Regions from separate parts of the Homo sapiens genome. Here region 2 is linked to region 1. Evidence: promoter capture Hi-C in 16 types of primary human blood cells and fetal thymus (Javierre and others, 2016). All regions are on one chromosome and are shown on one strand. Each heading gives the region's core, a stretch centred on a gene start or on the middle of the fragment in contact. The rest is flanking DNA. Distances are from core to core; before and after follow the strand shown.

Region 1 (6,184 bases), core at 637-3,136:
CACACCTCCTCTGACTATTACAGTATGAAATGCAAGGCTCTTCTCAAAGTGGTCTCAATTTTACTTCTCCAGTTCTAGGTAGGGAAACGAACATCTATTGAGAAGCTACAGTGTGTCAGCCCTGTGGTGAGTCCTCTCTACACTTCATCTGATGTAAGAGCACCCTCATTCCAATCCAAAGATCATGCTCTTTCTCCCACATGATGCTGTTCTCTGGCTTCCTCACCCATACTTCATTCCCTCTTCCTCTGATTCAATCATCTTTGTCTCTGAATACTCTACATTCTCCTAAAACTCTCTGCCTACGCAAGTTCTTTTTTTTTTTTTTTTTTTTTTTGGAGATGGAGTCTTGCTCTGTCGCCCAGGCTGGAGTGCAGTGCTGTGATCTGGGCTCACTGCAACCTCCGCCTCCCAGGTTCAAGCGATTCTCGTGACTTAGCCTCCGAAGTATTATAGCTGGGACTATAAGCACGCACCACCACGCCCAGCTAATTTTTGTAGTATTAGTAGAGACGAGGTCTTGCCATGTTGGTCAGGCTGGTCCCAAACTCCTGACCTCAAGTGATCCGCCCGCCTCGGCCTCACAAAGTGCTGGGATTACAGGTGTGAGCCACCGCGACAGGCCTACCTATGCAACTTCTATTCGCCTTTCAAACCCCAAAGTCTTCTCTTTGATGACCCCCTTCCCAATTCATCCAGGTACAGCTGGCATATCCCATCTCTTGCCCACGGCATCCACACACATCTTTGCTATCAATGCAATGAAACTTGTTTCCCCTAGACTAGGAGTTTCTCAGGACAGTGGCCATCACTTATTCACTTCTCATTCTCAGATTCAGCACAGAGCTTTGCACACCCCAGGTACTCAATAAATATCAGGAGATAATCACATTCCGGGAAGCCTTCCTAAACTACCCCATCCCTGAATCTACTCTTGCTCCTTAGTTCTATGGCTGGCACAGCTGACACCATAAAACTTCAACCCTATTTTCATGTTGCCATGGTCGTTTTATGTGTTCTAGTCTCGTTTACCCAATTGGACTATAAGAAGCTTCTGAGCAGAAACCATATCACACCTGCCCGTGTCCCTACACTGTGCCGAGCACAAATATTCTAAACATACACCTGCTGTTAGACTGGTGGGTAAGTCCAAGGAGGCAAGCTAGCTGGCGATACAGAATGATCTGAAACCTAGGCAAAACTCCCTGACGCTCTCTGACTGTCCTCCTGTCTTCTTTAATTTCTCTTTCTGTGTCTCTTGTTTCTACTCTGAGGAGATAGGGGCATGATCTTCACTCTACCCTCTTAACACTTAAGAGGGCATATACTGTAACGCAAGACAATGAATGAACTGTGGTATTCAAGAAAAAAAGGGTCCTAAACGCCTAAGAACTCATAATTTGGCCAAAAAGATAAGACTGATACGTGAAGACAACGACCGAAACAAAGTACCCGATGAGGGAGACCAGGACAGAGAGACACCTCCGCGGTCAGGCGAAAAGGAAGTCTCCCCTAAGCAGTGGGGCCCGCACCACGCCTCGAAGGACAGGTAGAATTTGGACAGAAGGAAGGAGACCGTCCCGTTGGGCAAAACCTCTCCACTCGCAGTCCCGCAGGCTTCCCGGAATCCTTCACGCTAAGGCGTGGCGGCGACCGAGTCTCAGCCGCAGCGAAGCCCCTAGACTAGAAAGCAGGGAGGTTCCAGTCGGGGTGAGGGGACCGGACCAGGGCAGACCAGCGTGGCCAAGCGGCAAGAATACTCGCCGAGGTGGCTCGGGAAGAGCTTGGCCTCCTGCAGCCCCTGCAGAGCACATACCCCAGCTTACCGTCTGTCGGCTCCAGGTCTCTTCAGCTCTTCTCCCACCTCAGACCATCTCCGGAGAGGCGCTTGAGGGACGGTCAAGGAAAGCCAATCGTCGTTCTCGGATCCGACTGACAGCCAATGGTAGCTGTGTCTGGCGGAACCCGTGCGCACCAAAACACGGAAGGGGCGGGAACAGTGGGTGGGGCTAGGCGTCCCGGGCGGACAGAGGGGCGACAGGATACGTGCAAAAGGTAGCACGTGACCGCGCCTCGCTGCTCAGGGCAACGCAAAGGCGGGGAGCCTATGGGCCTGAGTTCCCCTAACTGCGCAGGCTCGGCCTCCGGGACCCAACGGGCATGCGCAGGGCTCGCGCCTGGTGCGCAGTGGGGTCTCCCTCACGTGGTTCTTCGCTTTAGTTGGCTGGTTGCGTGGGCCTCGCGGAGAAAAAGGCGTGGGATGCTGCCCAGCGCTGTCGGCCCCGCTCGGCTCAGATTGAAGGTTCTACCCTTTCCTTCAGCCTCTTAGTCTTATTATGTTTTAAATGTTGGTATTATATGTTTCTCTTTCCCCCCAAAACTCGGCTTCCCTTCATCCACTCGTTCAGGTCAGAAAGCTGGCAGTCATCACTGATTCCTCTCACTTCTCACATCCAATCCATTGCCAAGTTCTGTGGATTCTACCTCCTTTTAAAACAGGATATTTCAAATTTATCCCCTTTTGTTTATCTTCACCGCCTCCCCCACCTCCCCTGTCCAGTGATGACCTCCAGGCAGGATTTATACATTAGTCTAATGGGTCCCGCTGCGTGCACACTTGCTTCCTTCCAAAGCATTCTCCACTTTGCAAAAAGCAGACCTGATCAAGTTACCATCTGCTTCAGACAATTCAAAGGCATTCTATTGCTTTCAGGGCAAAGCTCCAAAACCATACTGAGGTTTTCTAGACCCTTCAGCATCTGGGCTCTCCCTGTCTACTTTTTTTTAGTCCTTCTCGACCATATTTCTTGCTCTCCAGTCGCAAATTTCTTTCACCTTTTCCACCACACCAAGCCACCTTTTACCTCTCAAGCCTTGAACTTGTTTTCTTTACCTGGAATAATCCCTTTCTCCTCCTCCCACATTTATTTGACTGACTCCTACTAATTTTTATGGTCTCAGTGTAGATGCTTCTTTTTCCAAAAAGTCTTCCTGATAGTCCTTTCTTGTATTTAACAATACAGCTCAGTCACATTGTATTTGTCTGTTTACTCTCAGTCTGCATTCTTCACTAGACTAGTTCTTCACCTTTATAACTCCATCAGTGGGCCGGGTGTCGTGGCTCACGCCTGTGATCCCAGCACTTTGGGAGGCCGAGGCGAGTGGATCACATGAGGTCAGGAGCTCAAGACCAGCCTGGCCAACATGGGGAAACCCCGTCTCTACTAAAAATACAAAAACTAGCTGGGCATCGTGGCGGGCGCCTATAATCTCAGCTACTCGGGAGGCTGAGGCAGGAGAATCGCTTGAACCCAGGAGGCACAGGTTGCAGTGAGCTGAGATGGCACCACTGCACACCAGCCTGGGCAACAGAGCAAGACTCTGTCTCAAAACAAAACAAAAAACAAAATAAAACAAAAAACCCATCACTCACTTAGCCCAGTGGCTGAAACTCAGTAAGGGTTCAAGACATACTTGTTAAATAATATACCTTAATAAAGTTGGTTAAGACTGATATTTTATTGCATTGTAGTTTTCTGTATCTTCTAATCTAAAAATAAACCTATATAATTTGTACAATCAGAAAACACATTAAATGTTCAATATATATAAAATAAAATTTAAAATGCCATTAAGATAGTAAAGTCATACTTGTGCATAAATTTTGGTTTTAACAACAGTGAGTTATAACTTGGTCCCTATTTTAAAATAGGGTTTTGCAGGGCGCGGTGGCTCATGCCTGTAATCCCAGCACTTTGGGAGGCCGAGGCGGGCGGATCATGAGGTCAGGAATTCGAAACCAGCCTGGCCAACATGGCGAAACCCCATCTCTACAAAAAATACAAAAATTAGCCAGGTGTGGTGGTGGGTGCCTGTAGTGCCAGCTACTCAGGAGGCTGAGGCAGGAAAATCGCTTGAACCTGAGAGGCAGAGGTTGCAGTGAGCCAAGATCACTCCACTGCACTCCAGCCCGGGCAACAGAGAGAGACTCTGTCTCAAAAAAAAAAAAAAAGCGTTTTAAAAAATGTAATTCAAAAGTAACAAAATATATCTTACCAACTTTATTCATTCAAAAATGCATATAGTAGTACTTCATGAAATGCCATCCTCATTTTAATTCAGATTTACACCACTGAAAATAGCTTTTAGCTTTATTTAGCAATTTTATGAAGAAAAAGTTCATTCACAGAGCTGTGTAAACTCAAACATAGGTTACAGAGCAAAAATTTCAGGATTGCTCTGGGATCCATATATATGTTTCCAAAATTTAAAGCAGTGTCATTCTGTCTAGCATAGTTTACTTCTATCTCAATCTGCTTCTCTTGAAAACAAGCCACAATTTTGGCTGGGTAATTCAGACATATCCTGAGATTTGTTCTTTAAAAGCTGCCACAAAAACTGAAAGCATAATTCATACTCATTAAAAGCTGTGGATCCCTTCTGAAAGTGTGAAATGGATTAAGTTGATGAAAATATGTTTCGTATTTTTTTCATTCATTTAAAAATTCCCTATTTTTGAAACGTGATCAGGCTCTTCTTCACTAAAATATGTGATTCCATGGAACTCTGGGCAGCTCAGTACTGGAAGCTCAATACAGATTCCAGTTACCATCTACTCATTCCCCAGGTCCTGTAGAACTCTGAATACCTGTTCTCCCATCAACAAAAGTTTCTTGTGCAATCACAAGTTCACTGTGTTTGGTTGTCGTGTCATACTGGTAGAAAAACTGTTCCTCTGTGAACCACTAAGAGTTACATTTCTTAGACTGGGGAAACAGCTTGAAAAATCTCTTTGAATTTTCATGACTTAGAATTGAACATTTCACTACATAAAAATCAACCAAATCGATGTGTCCATCAATGGAGGATTGGATAAAGAAAACGTAGTTAATGTAGTGAGTGATAAAGAAAATGCAGTTTATAAACTCCAACTTGACTTTAATAAATTAAATTCCAAGCTGTCACACAGCAATGGACATCATTATCATCGCCCAACACACACACACACAGTGGAATACTACTCAGCCATAAAAAAGAATGAAATCATGTGTTTTCCAGCAACATGGGTGGAACTGGAGGCCATTATCCTCGGTGAAATAACTCAGAAACAAAGTCAAATATGGCATATTCTCATTTATAAGTGGGAGCTAAATAATGGGTATACATGGACATATAGAGTGGAATAAAAGACATCGGAGACTATGAAAGGTGAGAAGGTGGGAGGAGGGTGAGGGTTGAAAAACTACCTATTGGGTATGATGTTCACTATTTGGGCGATGCGCACACTAAAAAAAGCCCAGACTTCACCTCTATGCATGCAATATATGCATGTAAGAAACCTGCACTTGTCCCCCCAAATATATAAAACTAAATTATCTAATTGAAAAAAAAAATCTATACCCTCCATTCTTCCCGGATATCTCATATTTGGTGAGTAGTGTGGACAGGAGCATGGGGAATAGTAACAATTTCCACATGCTATCTACCCAAAGGCATGTGCCCTAAACACCCTGAGATATAGGTAGTCATAGAATGTCAAGGCTGGAAGTGACCTGAATGTTTATCCAGGTCACCCTTATTTTAGATATGAGGAAACTGAGGTCCCCAAAGGAGAAGTTGCCTGCTCAAGATCACTTGGTTTGTCTGTGGCAGACTCAGTTTTCTTGCTTCCTGGTCCTGCATTCTGCCCAATATCCTGTAGCAGCTTACCTGGTTCAAGTCCTGTATAAGATCTCAAGCACGGGAACCAGGGACACAGTTTGCTAGGATCTATCAATCCCTGAAATTTGCCCACATTTCAGAATGAGAGAGCTTTTATTATGTTGAAACACTTCTAAGACTTCCCCCTCCCAGTTTCTTCTGAGGCAACAGTTAACACTCAGCACTTCATTTACTTCTCATCCACAACCAAATGATAGCCATGATGATTGAAGTTCCCATTTTACAGATGAGAAAACTGAGGCACTTAGAGGTTACATAACTTGCCCAAGGTCACACAAGTAATTAGAAGAGCTGGGACTCAAACCCAGGCAGGCAGTCTAGTTACAGGGTCCAAGCTTTGATCTCCATTACATCCTAGAAGGAGCAGCCTGTTCCAGAAAGGGGAATGAAGACTAACCTGTACTAGTTGATTGAGTTTTTTGCTACAATTTCATACTCCAGAGCCTCCTGTCTCTTCCATCCT
Region 2 (6,184 bases), core at 2,334-4,833, 550 kb after region 1:
GTAGAAGTGGGGTTTCACCATGTTGCCCAGGCTGGTCTTGAACTTCTGGACTCAAGTGATCAGCCCACCTTGGCCTCCCAAAGTGCTGGGATTACAAGCATGAGTCACCACGCCTAGCCAGAACTCACAATTTCATGTGTTGAATATCAGTTACAAAATATTCCTTTTAAAAGCAACTATCCTAATATTATATAAATGGGTTTTTATGACTTGGGATAAAATTTCCCAAACTGCCAATATATCACACATGGATTCAAAACTGCTAAATACCAAACTGATGATTCAAAAAGTGGCCCCAGTGATGACATGATGTTCATAAAGAATCTAGAAAAAATTGTTTTATTAATATGAAAATGGAAAAAAGTAATTATTTCTAAATTAAACTTTATTTATTTAAAACATATACATATAAGTGAATTATTAACTATTTTAAGAACATATTTGACTATTTTTGCTACCTTTTTTTTTTTTAAGATGGAGTTTTGCTCTTGTTGCCCAGGCTGGAGTGCAATGGCAAGATCTCCGCTCACTGAAACCTCCACCTCCCAGGTTCAAGTGATTCTCCTGTCTCAGCCTCCCGAGTAGCTGGGATTACAGGCGCCTGCCACCACGCCCGGCTAATTTTTTTTTTTTTTTTTGTATTTCTAGTAGAGATGGGGTTTCACCATGTTGGTTGGCCAGGCTGGTCTCAAATGCCTGACCTCGGGTGATCTGCCCACCTCGGCCTCCCAAAGTGCTGAGATTACAGGCATGAGCCACCGCCCGGCCTATTTTGGCTGCATTTTAAAAAGTTTATACAATTGGCAAAAAGCTTTCCTTCTTAATAGTTTCATCAGAAAAGTAGGGAATTCCCTTATATTTGGGATCATTTCACATTGGTTTCTCCTTTTCCTAAAGACTTAGAACTAGTGTCCCAAATTTGCAAAGAACCAAGCTGATATTAGAAAAACTAAATGACTGGGAGTGAGAAAATCTATTTTCTAGTTTTGTTCTTCTATTTACTATCTGCCTGACCTTCAGTTACCCAACCTCTCTTAACCTCGTTTCTTTTCCTATAAAATGCAGCATTATCTAATGACCTTACAAGCTATTATGAGGGCCAAATGACTATAATGAAACTGTACTTCAGAAGTGCTATACAACTTGTAGCACATATATTCATGATGTAAAACAGCACCATTAGTAATAATAAACATGCATCTCATGAAAAAAATTTATGCCACTTCAAGGTAATGGATTTTTCTTTTTTTATTAAAAAAAAAAAAAAAAAAAAAAAAAAAAAAAAGAGAGACGGGGTTTTGCCATGTTGCCCAGGCTACAAATTCCTGGGCTAAAGTGATCCGCACACCTCAGCCTCCCAAAGTGCTGGGATTACAAGTGTGAGCCACAGCATCCGGCCAAGGCAATGGATTTTTGCCTTTGTCAATATTTTGATATTCAAATAATGAATATTGACTCTCCCCCCAAAATTTTACATACAGTTTCAGGGAATGCATCGATCCTCTAGAGAAGTTATTTCAAATGGCCCATAGAAAATCCCCTCATGCGATGAGAAATATTATTAATAAATGGGAGCATATTGTAAATGTAATCCCTGTAGAGCCTCCTATCCCTAAAAGGTTGAGAGTCATAGCTCTAGGAAGTCATGGTCCTCTATGTTAGAATTTTATGAGGTTTTGAAGAAATAAGACAAATCAAATGAACACCTAAAGAAAGGACAGCTCAGACCAAAACTTCAGACCTATATAAACATGCTGCATTTAATAGAAACCCCATATCTAATAATAAACCTGTTAGAAACAATGTTTACAGGCTCAAGGGTAGTTCTTAGGTTTCCAACTGGAGTTAAAAACACCTCTATACCATACAAGTAAAATTTAGGTAAAAACATCAAAAGCAACTTGAGAGGGAAAAAGGAACAAAAAGGTGTATGTTACTATCCACTTTATTTATTTATTTATTTATTTATTTATTTATTTATTTATTTATTTATTTTTTGAGAGAGTGTCTCACTCTGTAGTCCAGGCTGGAGTGCAGTGGTGCCATCTTGGCTCACTGCAAGCTCTGCCTCCTGAGTTCAAGCAATTCTCATGCCTCAGCCTCCTGAGTAACTGGGACTACAGGCACAGGCCAGCACCACCAAGCCTGGCTAATTTTTCTATTTTTAATAGAGACAGGGTTTTGCCATGTTGGGCAGGCTGGTCTCCAACTCCTGGCCTCAAGTCATCTGCGCGCCTTGGCCTCCAAAGTGTTGGGATTACAGGAGTGAGCCACTGCACCTGGCCCATCCACTTTACTGATGAGCATGTTCAAAAACTAATTATAGGTACTGGTAATCTCCATTTTTGCGATATTATAAGAATTAACTGAGTAATTATTTATCGAACATCTACTATACATACAACATGCTTTCTGAGAATTAAGATGACACAGGCTAGCATTCTGCCTACAAGAAGCTTAATAGGGATAAGACACAAACACAAATAACTGTAATATGAGGCAGAATGTGTTAAGTAACATGAGAGAGTAACCGATAAAGTGCGTGGAAATTCAGAGGAAGAGATTACTTCCAGCTGGTACAGTCAGGGATGACTTGATAGAAGAAACAGCATTTAGGCCGGGAGCGGTGGCTCATGCCTTAATCCAGCACTTTGGGAGCCAGGGCAGGCAGATCACCTGAGGTCAGGAGTTCGAGACCAGCCTGGTCAACATGGGAAAACCCTGTCTCTACCAAAAAATACAAAAAATTAGCCAAGTCTGGTGGTGCACGTCTGTAGTCCCAGCTACGGGGAGAGTGAGGTGGGAGGATTGCTTGAACCTGGGAGGCGGAAGTTGCAGTAAGCCAAGATCATACCACTTCACTCCAGCCTGGGCTACAAAGTGAGACTCTGCCTCAAAAAAAAAAAAGAAAGAAAGAAAGAAAGAAACAGAATTTAGATCATGCTTTGATGAATTCCAGGATTTGTTTGTTTTGAAACAGAGTCTTGCTCTATTGCCCAAGCTGTAGTGCAGTGGCGTGATCTTGGCTCAGTGCAGCCTCAACCTTCTGGGCTCAGGTGATTCTCCCACCTCAGCCTCCCAAGTATCTGGGACTACAGGCACAGGCCACCACACCTGGCTAATTTTTTGTATTTTTCTGTAGAGACAGGGTTTTGCCATGTTGCCCAGGCTGGTCTCAAACTCCCAACCTCAAGTGATCTGCCCGCCTGAGCCTCCCAAAGTGCTGGGATTACAGGCATGAGCCGCCACACCTGGCCAGAATTCCAGGCTTTCAGTACGTCAAGATGAAGAAAGAAGTAGGGTAAAATCATATGTCTCTCTTTGAGTCATTCCATTATCCAGATACAAGCAAAACAAGGCTTCCAAAATAGGACCATAGTTCCCCATACTAAGTATAGCATAAATCTCCGAACACCCAGGACACCACAAATTACAGGTTCCAGGCAGTTGACACAGGTCTCTCTGTTACAGCTACTAATATGGCTAGAAGGTATGGTCACCTCTAAACATGATAAATTTATCCTATCCTAAATTAACATTTGTCTTCTTAAAGTTCTTGAAATAATAAACCTCTTTACATTAATGTTTACTGGTTTAACAATTATTAAAATATAGCATATACTAAAAGGTAAGTTAACAATTTTCCCTATTGAAATTTGATCTGATTTTCTCTGAGGAAGAATTAATAAATATGATTACAAAGTTTTTGGTTTTTTTTTTTTTTTTTTTTTTTAACATTTTTGGAAAAAACATTCCAGATCTAAAAGGAACTTGCAAGAGCCCTTGATTGTCTTACAGATGTGAAAACTGAGGGCCCATAAGTTAGATGATCTCTCCAGGACGGTTAAAAAAAAAAAAAATTCCCTCATAAAGTTGAGCTTTGCCAAACAACTTTTAATAATTCTTACATGGTTTGAGTACACTATCTTTGGACTAAATAACAACTCTCTCCTACACAGACTTAACTACATGAATTGTTAAGTGCCTCAAGTAAAAAAACCTGGAGAATTAGGTTTCTGTTCTGCCTTTGCCACTAATTATGTGACCTTGGATAAGTCACTTAATTGATTATTGAAATATCCCTAACATAGGAGGTTAGTTTACATGAAATCCAAAGTGCTCTGTGTCTTTAAAGTTCTGTAAGTCTAAGCATTTGAAAACTACAGTAACAGAAAAAAAAAAAAACAACTACAGTGACAGAAAATGTACAATACTTCCATTTTATACCCACTGCTCCAGTTCTAACCACTTTGGAACAATATTTTATAGTAACATTAGGCTGCCAGAAGGCAAATTGTCTAACCATAACAAATTGTGTGTGCAAGAGAGATACAAGAATAACAGGTGGTATAATAATTCAGGATAAATATGCACAACTCTCTCTCAAAAAAAGTCAAGTTCTTTCTTGAATCTCTAAATGCTTCAGGATCCCTTACTTCCAGAATTATAGTCACCTTCTCCTTTGTAATTCACCGCAATATTTTATACACATATACATGCACACACAATTCATGGTCATATTAAGGCTAGTTTCTATAATTGTCAGGGAGGACTGTTCTGTCTTTTCTATTTATATGAAGCTATTATAGATAAAATCAGAGAGAAGATTACAATAAAATGTAGACCACATACGAAACCTAAAACTTGAAAAGTAATTTACTCAGTGAGGGTTTTAAGTCCATCACATTTCTATTCTAAAACAAAAGCTTGCAGAGAATTAAAACACACACACACACACACACACACACCCGTTATCAGTTTCTGCAGTGAACTTCTATATGAAGACATAAATAGATGGCAAATCAATGGAAACTCAAGAGAATCATTTTCTTTCTTTGCTGTCCCTCAAAACACAATTAAAAAGATACATAAATAATACAGGGGCCGGGCGCCATGGCTCACACCTATAATCCCAGCACTTTGGGAGGCCGAGGCGGGCAGATCACGAGGTGAGGAGATCGAGACTATCCTGGCTAACATGGTGAAACCCCGTATCTACTAAAAATACAAAAAAGTAGTTGGGCGTGGTGGCAGGCGCCTGCAGTCCCAGCTACTCAGGAGGCTGAGGCAGGAGGATAGCTTGAACCCGGGAGGCAGAAGTTGCAGTGAGCTGAGATTGTGCCACTGCACTCCAGCCTGGAGACAGAGCGAGAATCCGTCTCGAAAACCAAACAAACAAGAAAAAAAGTCAGAACATGTTCTCATTAATTTGCAGAATACAAAAAAAAGATCAAATCAAGGCCCGCATGCCTACAGTCCCAGCTACTTGGGATATGGAGGCGGGAGGATTGCTTGAGGCTAGGAGTTCTAGGCCGCAGTGCACTATGATAGCGCCTGTGAATAGCTACTGCCCTCCAGCCTGGGCAACATAGTGAGACCCTGTCTCTTTAAAAAAAAAAAATCAAAAGATGCCTTTCTTTGTACTTTATTTTATGATGAAGTCATGAGAAAGCATTTGTTTCTGCATTTGTTCACTTATTTATCTATTGGAACTTTGCAGTCTAGGACATTCTGCACTTCAATAACTAAAGCCAAAGGGAATTTATTTTTTAAAAAATCAATGTTTACGTACTGATATCTGCAACTTACTTTGAAATGTATATTTTTTTTTAATGGAGAGAGGGATGGATGGATGATTAGATGCATGATAAAATATAGTGAAATGTTAGTTATAGAATCTAGTTGGTGGTTATATGGGTATTCACTACAAAGTTCTTTCAACTTTTCCAGATGTTGGAAAATTTCATAATGAAATGTTGAGCTAAAATAAACGCTGGAAATTTTGATACAACTTTTAGATAAAAATTTCACCCTATCTGGACATTTCTACTGTCCAGGGATCTGTTTGTAAAGGAGCAGGACCCAAAAACATTACACAGAAATCATACCAATGTCTTAACACTCTACAGAGCAGAATGTACTGAGATAAATTGTTCTCCAGAGTACACAAATCTGTGGGTATCTGGATCATGTTAAGTCCCAAATAATTCAGAAATATGTGACACAACTCTATGTATACGTACACATGTCAAAATAGCATGCAAAAGTTATATTTTATATATATCACGTAGGGCTTTACCATCCCTCAGTTATCAATGAATTAAAAATACTAAGTTCCAAGAACCTTTTAACAAAGAATATTTTTAGAAAGATTACCTTTATCTGGTTTATATAATACAAGACC

What was found. The method cuts DNA at HindIII sites, captures the fragments that hold promoters and counts their contacts. A CHiCAGO score of 5 or more calls a contact.
Region 2: a contact is called between a fragment that was not itself captured here and the fragment with the promoter of HINFP in region 1, in 2 of 17 cell types (activated CD4 T cells and non-activated CD4 T cells). The highest score is 5.6, in activated CD4 T cells.

The regions. Positions count from the first base shown.
Region 1 is chr11:119,117,282-119,123,465 of GRCh38, reverse strand. It overlaps HINFP (histone H4 transcription factor), which reads right to left and starts at 1,886. Exons shown (of 10, transcript NM_198971.3): 1 at 1,827-1,886. C2CD2L (C2CD2 like) reads right to left here. Exons shown (of 14, transcript NM_001290474.2): 14 at 4,922-6,184. RefSeq lists a silencer at 1,873-2,152. The HindIII fragment of the contact is 5,005 bases long and covers 1,054-6,058 here.
Region 2 is chr11:118,573,976-118,580,159 of GRCh38, reverse strand. The region is part of intron 1 of ARCN1 (archain 1 coat protein complex I subunit delta); the gene reads right to left. It also overlaps a transcript of IFT46 not described here. Among named protein-coding and RNA genes, the nearest start is that of ARCN1, 4.7 kb to the right of the region's middle. The HindIII fragment of the contact is 2,250 bases long and covers 2,459-4,708 here.